Linked DNA regions of Homo sapiens: regions 2 and 3 are each linked to region 1. Evidence: promoter capture Hi-C in 16 types of primary human blood cells and fetal thymus (Javierre and others, 2016). All regions are on one chromosome and are shown on one strand. Each heading gives the region's core, a stretch centred on a gene start or on the middle of the fragment in contact. The rest is flanking DNA. Distances are from core to core; before and after follow the strand shown. Region 1 holds the start of C12orf56 (chromosome 12 open reading frame 56). Region 2 overlaps C12orf56 (chromosome 12 open reading frame 56). Region 3 overlaps C12orf56 (chromosome 12 open reading frame 56).

Region 1 (4,010 bases), core at 1,368-3,867:
AAACCATTGTATTGCCTTCTCTGTGTGCCACGAAGTTAAAAGTTTAACTGAAGTCACCTTGATCACCAATCTCCCAGTCAAATTCCCTTCTTTCTGTGCTTCATTTTATTTATTTATTTATTTTTTAATTTTAGATACAGAGTCTTGCTCTGTTGCCCAGGCCAGAGTGGAGTAGGGCAATCTCAGCTCACTGCAACCTCCACCTCCCGGGTTCAAGCAATTCTCCTGCCTCAGCCTCCCGAGTAGCCAGGATTACAGGCATGTGTTACCACACCCAACTAATTTTTTGTAATTTTAGTAGAGATGGGGTTTCACCATGTTGGCCAGGTTGGTCTCAAACTCCTGACCTCAACTGATCTACCCGCCTCGGCCTCCCAAAGTGCTGGGATTACAGGCATGAGCCACCACACCCAGCCTGTGCTTCATTTTAATGTTTGCTAAGCTTAGTGCACTTGTCACCAAAAGCTTATTCAAGATGGGCTTCTTGGCAGATATATCAAGTATGCTGTCTTTTTTGGTCCTGGTCCAGTCATTCTGTTTCTCTTAGTCCTGGGAAGTAGGTATGAAGTAGGAAGCCTGAGAGACACAAAATAGTAGACTAAGATAAGGCCTTTCCCTTATGTGGGCCTCACTTTCCACCTCTGATATTGTAGTCATTCATCTTTCAACTGCTTTTGTGAGGTGTGGCTATTCAGCAGAGGTGAAGCGCCTTTGCCTTTCTGTTAGTTTGAAGCAACAAACTCTATTTAGAGTGGTTTAGATAATGAGTAGTCTTTATTTTGGAGGAAATAGCCATGCGGCATCTTTTATCAATAAAGGTTGCTACGGATGGTGTAGTTCATTCATTTTTCATCCATTTATGAAGTTAGGAAGGCTCAGATGTGTGATGAGATCCTAAGAAAACTTTAACTACTAGGTCATTTAAGATTTTGCCAGCAGGTGGCACTTCTCTTTACTCACTTGAGTTCCTTAACATGATCTTAGACTTAAGTCTAGCCAGACCCTTACATGGCGGTGGTTCATGCCTGTATTCCCAGCACTTTGGGAGGTCAAGGCAGGCAGATCAGTTGAAGTCAGGAGACAAGCCATGGCCAAGATGGTGAAATCCTGTCTCTACTAAAAATACACACAGAAAAAAAATTAGCCAGGCATGGTGGTGTACACCTGTAGTCCAAGCTACTTGGGAGGCTGTGGCAGGAGAATGGCTTGAACCCAGGAGGCAGAGGCTGCAGTGAGCCGATATCATGCCACTGCACTCCAGCCTGGGTGACAGAGGGAGACTCTGTCTCAAAAAAAAAAAAAAAAAAAAAGTTTAGCCAGACCAAAACATTTCTCTTTCCCTTTGTACTAGTGTAGTCTACAATATCTGTTTATGGATTGTAATATATTTATACCTTCTTTCCACAAGGGATTTGAAGTTGCTTATAACATACAGTATACAATAATAAAATATGTAGAAAGGGAGAATATAAAGAATATATCAAATTTGATTCAGGGTTGCTGGCAGCCACAGCAATGAACGATATGGTTTCATTATCAGGTTTTTGGGTCAATGGGGAGGGGAAGAGAATAACTTTTCTAGGATTCGAAATAAAAAATGGAACTTCTGACTTAGAGCATTTCTGTTGTGCCCTTCTCATTTCTCTAACCTAATTAGTAAGTTATTCTTGGCCTGTAAAAACTAAGGAATACTTACTCCTCTGCAGCCTCAGGGTATGTAATCCGCATTCTTCAGTCTATCAGCTTCAACTTTTCAAGATGCCAGCATCACCCATTCATTCTTCCTGCATAGATTGTCCTGGGCATTGGAAACAAAACCATATGCCTTAGGTTGGTTTGGGTGTGCTCACATCAATTCATGTGAAGAATCCCTTTCTCAAAGGCTGGGCGAGGTGACTTAACGCCTGTAATCCCAGCACTTTGGGAGGCCGAGGCGGGCGGATTACCTGAGGTCGGGAGTTGGAGATCAGCTTGACCAACATGGAGAAACCCCGTTTTTACTAAAATATACAAAATTAGCTGGGCGTGGTGGCGCATGCCTGTAATTCCAGCTACTCAGGAGGCTGAGGTAGGAGAATCGCTTGAACCCGGGAGGGGGAGGTTGCGGTGAGCCGAGATGGCGCCATTGCACTCCAGCCTGGGCAACAAGAGCAAAGCTGCGTCTCAAAAAAAAAAAGAGAAAAGAAAAAAAAAATCCCTTTCTCACTGGTTGGAGAAAGAAGACCTATGTTTACACTCCGACAATATCAGAAAGCTGTGCCAGGCCATGTTATAACCAAAAGCTAAATCTGTGTGATTGGGTTTAATAGGTTTCTAGGGTTGTTAAAAATAAATCGGTAAATTAAACTCTTTCAAGTTTCTAACAGGAAACCAGATTGAAGCTGGCTTCCATTACCAATAAAGTTTGTATTGGATGGTGTGATCCGCAACAGAGTACGCAGTGGTGGGGACTGGCATTAGGGGTGGGCGGGAGAGACCCTAAAAATCCACCGCCCTTCGGCCGCAGGGGACTTCACGGTGATGAGCCCGAGGTGCCCATCAACTCGGGCCTGAAGGACCAGCGTCTTGCCCCGCCCATCGCCGTCTGAGGTTAGGACAAAGATCGAGAGGCTGGACAGGGCTGGGGAGGGCGCTCCAGGGAAGCCGACCTAGCGTCGATTCCTGCAGTTGCGGCCCGGGTCCCCGCGCCTGGAGAGGAGGCGACGCGTGGCCGGCGGCTTTGTGGCGCGCGGGTTCCAGCGCGGGGGCGGGGAGAGGGCGAGCTGAGGGCCTCGAGTCCCAGCACTCCGCCACGCTGCGGGCGCCGGGCATGGCCAGCCCCTTGCCGTCCGGCTTCCCCGCGCGCAGGAACAGCCGCCTGGATGTGTTCCTGCGGCGGCATCTGCCGCCCGAGGTCTACGACGCGGTCCGCGCCTACGAGCCATGCATCGTGGTGTCCAACTCTGAGAACCACATCCTCAAGTATGTGGTGCTAAGCGACCGGCTCGTCTACCTAACCGAGAACCCGCCCAAGTCCATCCGGCGGGTAGTGGCTCTGCGGGACGTCGTGGCCATTGACCTGGTGAGCGGCGCGGGTGGGCAGGCGGGCTCGGGAGCGCAGTGAGAACTCCCGGCTGGGGCCCCCAAACCCAGCCCTCCTGCGCGGGGAGGGCTGCCCCATCCTGCCCTCGACTCCCCTCCTCTTATTTGAGAACGAGGAACACAGGGAAGCTGTGGATTGCTGTGAGCACTCCTAATACAAACACGTCTCCCATTCTCCTCGTGTCTGCCTGTTCACCCATTCTCCCGCCTCCCCTACCCCACGTAGGGCTACAGGTTTGAGAACCGAGCTCCCTATCAAAAATACCTTTTAAAGTCATTCCTTTGTTAACAAAGCACCTAGTCAGTGCCAGGCACTGTGCTAGACTCGGAGGATGCAAAAACGAAAGAGGGCCCCTACCTAGAAGCAGTCGCTGGAGGGCTAGAAAGCCAACACCCGTGCAAATAAATGCTGTGTGTTAAGTGCTGTTATATCTCATTTACTTTTTTGCCCCCGATGCTTAGAGCATGTTAGATGCTCAATAAGAATAAATGCATAAGGCCGGGTGCCGTGGATCACGCCTATAATCCTTACACTTTGGGAGGCCAAGGTGGATAGATCACCGGGGGTCAGGGGTTCGAGACCAGGCTGGCCAACATGGTGAAACGCCGTCTCCACCAAAAGTACAAAAATTACCCAGGCGTGGTCGTGTGCACCTGTAATCCCAACTACTTGGGAGGCTGAGGCACAAGAATCGCTTGAACCTGGGAGGCGGAGGTTGCCGTGAGCCGAGATCGCCCCACCTGCACTCCAGCCTGAGCTACAGAATGAGTGAGACACCGTTCCCCTCCACCCCCTCCCCAGCAAAAGAATAAATGCATGAATAAGCAGATGCGTTAATGAGATGCGCACAGGACGCTTGGCAATCTCAGGCGGCTCACTTGATCCAAACTGGGCGCAGGGCCTGCTGGGAAACGTCTTGGAAGGAGGG
Region 2 (3,986 bases), core at 466-2,965, 91 kb after region 1:
CAAAACTCTTGGTGGGTTTTTGTTACATCCCAGCCTTTGTGAAAGGACACTGGCTCTATCAGCTTTTAATATTTAACATAACCACTCAGTCAGTACCGGAACAGTTGTTATGGAGGCCTGTCTGTTCAGCTGTTATGAAGACCTGGCCTGCCACAGACTTACAGTTCCACATGGCTGGGAGGCCTCAGGAAACTTACAATCATGACAGAAGGCGAAGGGGAAGCAAGGCATGTCTTACATGGCAACAGGAGAGAGAGAGAGAATGTGCAGGGGAAACTGCCACTTTTAAACCATCAGATCTCATGAGGACTCCCTCACCATCGTGAAAACAGCATGCATGATCCAATCACCTCCCACCAGGACCCTCCCTCGACAGTGGGGATTACAATTCAAGATGAGATTTGGGTGGGAACACAGAACCAGAACATATCAGGCTACCATCTGGATAAGGTGGGCACTGGGAAAATGAATCCAGATGTAGATGCTCATGGAAAAGGCACAGTGCCCAAAGGTGAGAGTGATCTCTACATAAGAGTGAGCAAAATGAAATATCAGGATATTTTAGCATGTGGGTGAATTACAACTGGATGTCTGCACAAACATTTGGCACCAGGAAGATCTGCTTGTTTAGGGTGTGGGAACAGGGTTTTATGGAATGTGAGGACATAAAGATTGTCAAGAGTAAAGCCAGCAGTTAGGAGAGGACTGGGAAAGGACTTAGGACAGTGCTCAAAGGGGAAGTCCACCCAGATACACTGGACACAATCAGGGACTGGATTTAAAGTGCATGTCTAGGTAGGAGAACTGAAGTACCACTTAAGGGTTAGATTAAGAAGGATGTTGATGTGTATTCCTAATGGGATCAGCACCAGTGTTAGTCTGGAGGTCATTTAAGCATCTTCAGTTTAAAAACAGGCCTGATACCTGTGGCCTAGGCTGTGGAACAAAAAAAGAATGGAGAGAAAGAGAGTAAGGTTAGGATTCACAGACCTGACCCGCCACTTCATCTTCTCTCTCACCTCTGTCCTCTACAAGATCGAGCCATGTAGGATAACTTGGATACTTGTTCTCCTTAGCTCTCCTTTCTCCCTGCTGCTTGCTTTCTCTAGAATACTCTTCTTCTAATTTCTCTTGTTAAAAATCATACCCATTCATCAAGGCTCAGCTCAAATGCCATTTTCTGCCTTTCCTGTCATGCCTAATGGGGAACTTTAGTACCTTCCTCCTTTTGATCTTCTCTGTCAATTCCATGCCATAGAACTTTCTTTGAAGTTTTATAATCTGCATTGTTCAATACAGCAGACACTAGCCACATGTGGCTATTAAGCACTTGAATGTGACTAGTGACTAAAAAAGTAAAACGTTAATTTTATTAAATTTACATTAATTTAAATAGACACTTGTGGGCAGTAGCTACCGAGTTGAACAATGTAGTTCTATGACATCTTTCATAGCACTTCCTCTTTAACAATTAACAGACAGTTTTCATGCCTAATCTGTGTGAGGCTTGGTGATAGGTATTAGAAATATAGCATGATTATGATACAGTTTCTACCATCGAGAATTAGCACAGATATCCTCCCTTTTACTATAGTGATTGGCACATTTTTCTTATTTATCTTAATATGCTAAAAGCTTCTTTAGGACAAGTATATGTCTTACTTATCTTTGTATTCTCCCTCAGGCCAAAACACAATGCATGCATATTCCAGGTGCTGTAAGTTATTCATACTGAATTGCAAATCTGTTCTCTTGTGAAATATTAACCTAATCCAATGTCTAAAAATGAAGCTTTCATGATCTGTTTTATACTTGAAAACACTGCAGCCATTATTTAATATAATATTCTTACCTGGGCTAAAACAAATCTTCTAATTCAGTTATCAAAAATGAAAGGCCAAAGTGAATGGAGAAGGAAATAATTCAGATAGGAAAAGGGGAAGTCAAATTGTCTCTGTTCACAGATGACATGATTGTATATTTAGAAAACCTCACCGTCTCAGCCCAAATCTCCTTAAGCTTATCAAAGCAACTTCAGCAAAGTCTCAGGATACGAAATCAATGCACAAAAATCACAAGCATTCCTATACACCAATAACAGACAAACAGAGAGCCAAATCATGAGTGAACTCCCATTCACAATTGCTACTAAGAGAATAAAATACCTAGGAATACAACTTACAAGGAATGTGAAGGACCTCTTCAAGGAGAACTACAAACCACTGCTCAAGGAAATAAGGGAGGACACAAACAAATGGAAAAACATTTCATGCTCATGGATAGGAAGAATCAATATCGTGAAAATGGCCATAACTGCCCAAAGTAATTTATAGATTCAATGCTATCCCCATCAAGCTACCTATTGACTTTCTCCACAGAATTGGAAAGAACTGCTTTAAAGTTCATATGGAACCAAAAAAGAGCCCGCATAGCCAAGACAATCCTAAGCATAAAGAACAAAGCTGGAGGCATCACACTACCTGACTTCAAACTATACTACAAGGCTACAGTAACCAAAAGAGCATGGTACTGGTACCAAAACAGACATATAGACCAATGGAACAGAACAGAGCCCTCAGAAATAACACCACACATCTACAACCATCTGATCTTTGACAAACCTGACACAAACAAGCAATGGGGAAAGGATTCCCTATTTAATAAATGGTGCTGGGAAAACTGGCTAGCCATATGCAGAAAACTGAAACTGGACCCCTTCCTTACACCTTATACAAAAATTAACTCAAGGTGGATTAAAGACTTAAACATAAGACCTAAAACCATAAAAGTCCTAGAAGAAAACCTAGGCAATACCATTCAGGACACAGGCATGGGCAAAGACTTCATATCTAAAACATCAAAAGCAATGGCAACAAAAGCCAAAATTGACAAATGGGATCTAATTAAACTAAAGAGCTTCTGCACAGCAAAAGAAACTATCATCAGAGTGAACAGACAACCTACAGAACGAGAGAAAATTTTTGCAATCTATCCATCTGACAAAGGGCTAATATCCAGAATCTACAAAGGACGTAAACAAATTTACAAGCAAAAAACAACCCCATCAAAAAGTGGGCAAAGGATATGAACAGACACTTCTCAAAAGAAGACATTTATGCAGCCAACAAACATGAAAAAAAGCTCATCATCACTGGTCATTAGAGAAATGCAAATCAAAACCACAATGAGATACCATCTCATGCCAGTTAGAATGGTGATCATTAAAAAGTCAGGAAACAACAGATGCTGGAGAGGATGTGGAGAAATAGGAATGCTTTTACACTGTTGGTGGGAGTGTAAATTAGTTCAACCATTGTGGAAGGCAGTGTGGCGATTCCACAAGGACCTAGAACTAGAAATACCATTTAACTCAGCAATCCCATTAGTGGGTATATACCCAAAGGATTATAAATCACGTTGCTATAAAGACACATGCACATGTATGTTTATTGCAGCACTATTCACAATAGCAAAGACTTGGAACCAACCCAAATGTCCATCAGTGATAGACTGGATTAAGAAAATGTGGCACATATACACCATGGAATACTATGCAGCCATAAAAAGATGAGTTCATGTCCTTTGCAGGGACATGGATGAAGCTGGAAACCATCATTCTCAGCAAACTAACACAAGAACAGAAAACCAAACATGTTCTGCATGTTCTCATTCATAAGTGGGAGTTGAACAATGAGAACACATGGACACAGGGAGGGGAACATCACACATTGGGGCCTGTCGGCGGACGGGGGAATAGGGGAGGGATAGCATTAAAAGAAATACCTAATGTGGCTGACGGGTTGATGGGTGCAGCAAACCACCATGGCATGTGTATAACAAAACTGCACATTCTGCACATGTACCCCAGAAATTAAAGTATAATAAAAAAAAGAAAAAAAAGTAAATGGGTAGTCTCTCTATTTGTGGTCTCTCTACACTTCAGTGGAGTCCCCCTTGGCCCTATCCCCAACCATGCTATCAAACCC
Region 3 (3,962 bases), core at 594-3,093, 110 kb after region 1:
CTCCCAAAGTGCTAGGATTATAGGCATGAGCCACCGCACCCGGGCTCTTTTTTCTTTTTTTGAGACAGAGTTTTGCTCTGTCGCCAGGGCTGGAGTGCAATGGTGCGATCTTGGCTGACTGTAATCTCCGCCCCCTGGGTTCAAGCAATTCTTGTGCCTCAGCCTCCTGAATAGCTGGGATTACAGGCATGCACCACCACACCCTGCTAATTTTGTATTTTTAGTAGAGACGGGGTTTCACCATGTTAGTCAGGCTGGTCTTGAACTCCTGTCCTCAGGTGATCCACCCCCCGTCGGCCTCCCAAAGTGCTGGGATTACAAGTATGAGCCACCGTGCCCAGCCAAAATTGTATTAGTTTTCTATTGCCATATAACAAATTATCACAAACTTAGTGGCTTAAAACAACATGTATTTCTTATCTCACAGTGTCAGTGGATCAGAAATCTGGGCACAGCTTAACTGGATCCTTTGCCCAGGGTCTCACGAGGTTTCAGTTGAGGTGTTGGCCAGGCCATAGTCTCATCTGAGGCTTGGGACTCTTCCTAGCTCATTTGGGTGATTGCTGGCAGACTAAATTTCCTTACAGCTGTGGGACTCAGGTGGCTTGTTTCTTTGCAGGAGAGTATCTCTTTTTCGGGGCTCACCTGATTAGAGCAAGCCTACTCTGGATAATCTTCTTTTGATTAACTCAACAGTCAGCCAATTAGGGCCTTTATTATATTCTCAGAATCCCTTCATCTTTCCCATTTCATGTAACATAATCACAAGAGTGACAGACAAACATATTCAGAGCTATTGCCCATACTTAAGGGGAAGGAATTTGATAGGGTTTGTACCAGCAGGCTGGGAATTTTGGAAGCCACGTTAGATTTCTGCCCACCACAATAACATGGACTGACTTAGGAGACTATCGATGTGGCCTTCAAAGTCTGTATTTTTAAAGATATTGTAGTACATTCAAAATTCATACATTAGAAATAATAACAACCTAAACAATAAAGTATTAAACTGTTGGGACTGTTTTTAAGGCTGTGATGTCAATCCTCTAAGTTATCTCTATTTTCAGGATGAAACTACCATTTTGATTAAAATTTCTTCTATCTATTATTGTCCTAGTGGATTTTAAATTGAATTAGCAGAAGGGGTGGATTTCAAATTAAATTCCATTTGGGTAAATAAAAAAGCGGTTAATCATTTCAGCATTTTCCTCTTTATTGTTTTCATGAGTGGAGATTTCATTAGTTCAACATACTTTGCTGTAACTTTCTTGAAATGTGCCATATTTTTTCATATCCTAGTATTGTTAGGGTTGAATTCATATGTTATCATAGCAAGTGACCCATAATTTGAGAGTTCTTTTTCTTTGCTTTGGATGTATGATACTTTGAAAATAAGCTGTTACTGAAAATAAAGGACTATAATTAAATATAACAGTGAATGGAATGCCAGTTCAAACAATATCAAGAAACACTTCTAAAGGGAGTGTTCTGTTGATTTTAAAAGGGTCTTCTCAAAGTAAGATTGGCCATTTTAAATAGCCTGAATAAAACATTATTAAATACCCTGTAGGGTATATCCTGCTTTTGTGAGAAATGTACTAACTGACATGATTCTTCTTTCCAAATATAAGAACTAGACTTGCTTTTTGACTTGGAGAAAGGAAGAGCATTGTATTTTTACTAGAGTGTAGGTTAATCATGAGCTTCTAATCATGGTGATGATTTAAATGATTCTAAGAAGATTAGAAAGCCTCAGATCCTACTAAACAAGGGTATTTATACTCACCCTCCTTTTTTCCATTATGAAAGGAATGCTTATGGTTATGGAGAACTTTTGTATAGTACTATCTTTGAATTATTTTACTACTCCTACCCCTCAAATCTACTCTGACATTGTCTTCAATTAGGCAACTGAGTTTTTAGCAGTCTGCCTTCAGCTGCTTTTCAACCATACAGGGGTTATACTACCCAATAGGAGGAGATAGCGTTATTAACCCAGCTCATCAGGATGCACATGTAACATTTAAGTGAGTTATCAATGGACGGTACCCCACATTGGAAAGTAAAATAACTGAGGTTTTTTGGGATCAAATAAGCATTTTACAAAATGGTGGAGTTGGGTGTGGAGGCTCATGCCTGTCATCCAAGCACTTTGAGAGGCTGAGGTGGGCAGATTGCTTTAGGCCAGGGGTTCAAGTCCAGCCTGGGCAACAAAGCAAGACCCCATCTTTATGTTTAAAAATTTTTATATTTAAAAAAAAGAAATGCTGTACATTATTAACAGAAACCAAGAAAAGGAAGCAAACTTACTGTCCAGCAATGGGTGAATGGATAAAGAAAATGTGGTACATATACACAATGGAATATTATTCAGCCATAAAAATGAAGTCTTGTTATTTGTGACAACATGGATGAAACTGGAGGATATTAGGCTAAGTGAAATAAGCCAGGCACAGAAAGACAAATACGAGTTTGACTTTTGAGTTCATGCATGATCTCACTTATATATGGAATCTAAAAAAGCCAAACTCATAAAAACAGAGAGTGTAGAATGGTGGTTGTCAGAGGCTTAGGGGCGGGGTGGAATTGGGAGATGTTGGTCAAAGGGTACAAAACTTCAGTTAGACAGGAGGAAGAAGTTCCAGAGATCAATCATACAAATATGGTGACCATAGTTAATAGCAATGTCCTGTATACTTGAAAATTGCTGACAATAGATTTTGTGTTCTCACTATATAAAAATAAGCATGTGAGGTGATGCATACGTCAATTCGCTTGATTTATAAAATATGTACACATTCTACAGTATATACATATTTCAAAACATCATGTTGTATACCATAAATATATACAATTTTTATTATCAATTAAAAAAAGTAAAAACTGAAAGTGGTCGCTCAAGCCTGTAATCTCAGCTACTTGGCTGAGGCAGGGGATCACTTGAGTCCAGTAGTTCAAGACCAGCCCGGGCAACATCATGAGATCCTGTGCCAAAAATAACCCAAGCAAACAAACCTAAAAAAAGAAAAAAGAAGAGCTGCATACTGTTGCTTTGTCCCAGAGATACACTGTGCATATTAGCATATAAAGCCTCTGAGAAGTCCTGTAGTAAACACATCTGATGAACTTGGTTTAACCAAGTATTTCCCCTATCTCCTTTGACCACAGAATCTATTTTAACTATAATATTGTCTGGAATTAGCAATCCATAAAAAGTCCTTTGGAAAATAATGCTATAATTGAAATTACCCAAATCTCCCTTAAATCCAGATTTTCTAGTCTTTCTAAGCTATGTGGACTTCTAGAACTACACTCGCTCTGAGCCAGAAGACCAAGAAGTTATATTTTCATTTAAATTTTTTATCTCTAGTTATTCATTTGCGTGTCCAAGGATCCAAAACTTCAGTCAAGGATGGTCTGCAATGCTTCATTCTTTTAAACATAATTATATCCAGTGTTTGAAACTTGGCTTCACCATTTTTCCTCTCAACACTTTGCTCACTAATTGCCTTTTATTTATTTTTTTCCAGGGGAGCACTATTTAATCTCTTGGTAATTTTAATTAGTGAGCCTCAGATTCCAAAATCTTGTCCTGTGTTTGATATCCAGTTGGTGGCTGATTCAGCTTTAGTCAGAATGTCTTTTGACGCTGAGGTGAGATGAGAATTTGGGGGGTAAACTATTATATATATATATATATAGGGGCCCTGGCTTCTTTTAATGTGGACCATGACACCGTAGAATAGAGAAACATAATTAAACCAAAGAGTAGATCTTTTGTCATTAACCTCAAAACTTAGATAACTAGTCAGTCTAAAGTAGATTTAGAGATTTAGAGGGTCAAGAAAAAGGAAAAAATAACTATTCAGTCAATATTAATATATCCCTTTTATATGTCTTAAGGTATGTATATTAAAGAAAGTAATTAGCATTCTTTATAAATTTGATAAATCTGTTTATGT

What was found. Contacts are between HindIII fragments. The CHiCAGO score rates a contact against its expected background, and 5 or more counts as called.
Region 2: a fragment that was not itself captured here is called in contact with the fragment with the promoter of C12orf56 in region 1 in 3 of 17 cell types (activated CD4 T cells, non-activated CD4 T cells and naive CD4 T cells); the score reaches 7.1 in activated CD4 T cells.
Region 3: a fragment that was not itself captured here is called in contact with the fragment with the promoter of C12orf56 in region 1 in 5 of 17 cell types (activated CD4 T cells, non-activated CD4 T cells, naive CD4 T cells and 2 more); the score reaches 11.6 in activated CD4 T cells.

The regions. Positions count from the first base shown.
Region 1 is chr12:64,389,365-64,393,374 of GRCh38, reverse strand. C12orf56 (chromosome 12 open reading frame 56) reads left to right here and starts at 2,617. Exons shown (of 13, transcript NM_001170633.2): 1 at 2,617-3,061. The coding sequence starts at 2,810. The HindIII fragment of the contact is 6,871 bases long and covers 468-4,010 here.
Region 2 is chr12:64,297,302-64,301,287 of GRCh38, reverse strand. All of the region lies in intron 6 of C12orf56 (chromosome 12 open reading frame 56), which reads left to right. Among named protein-coding and RNA genes, the nearest start is that of KICS2, 77 kb to the right of the region's middle. The HindIII fragment of the contact is 156 bases long and covers 1,638-1,793 here.
Region 3 is chr12:64,277,372-64,281,333 of GRCh38, reverse strand. It overlaps C12orf56 (chromosome 12 open reading frame 56), which reads left to right. Exons shown (of 13, transcript NM_001170633.2): 9 at 3,531-3,654. Among named protein-coding and RNA genes, the nearest start is that of KICS2, 57 kb to the right of the region's middle. The HindIII fragment of the contact is 8,258 bases long and covers 1-3,962 here.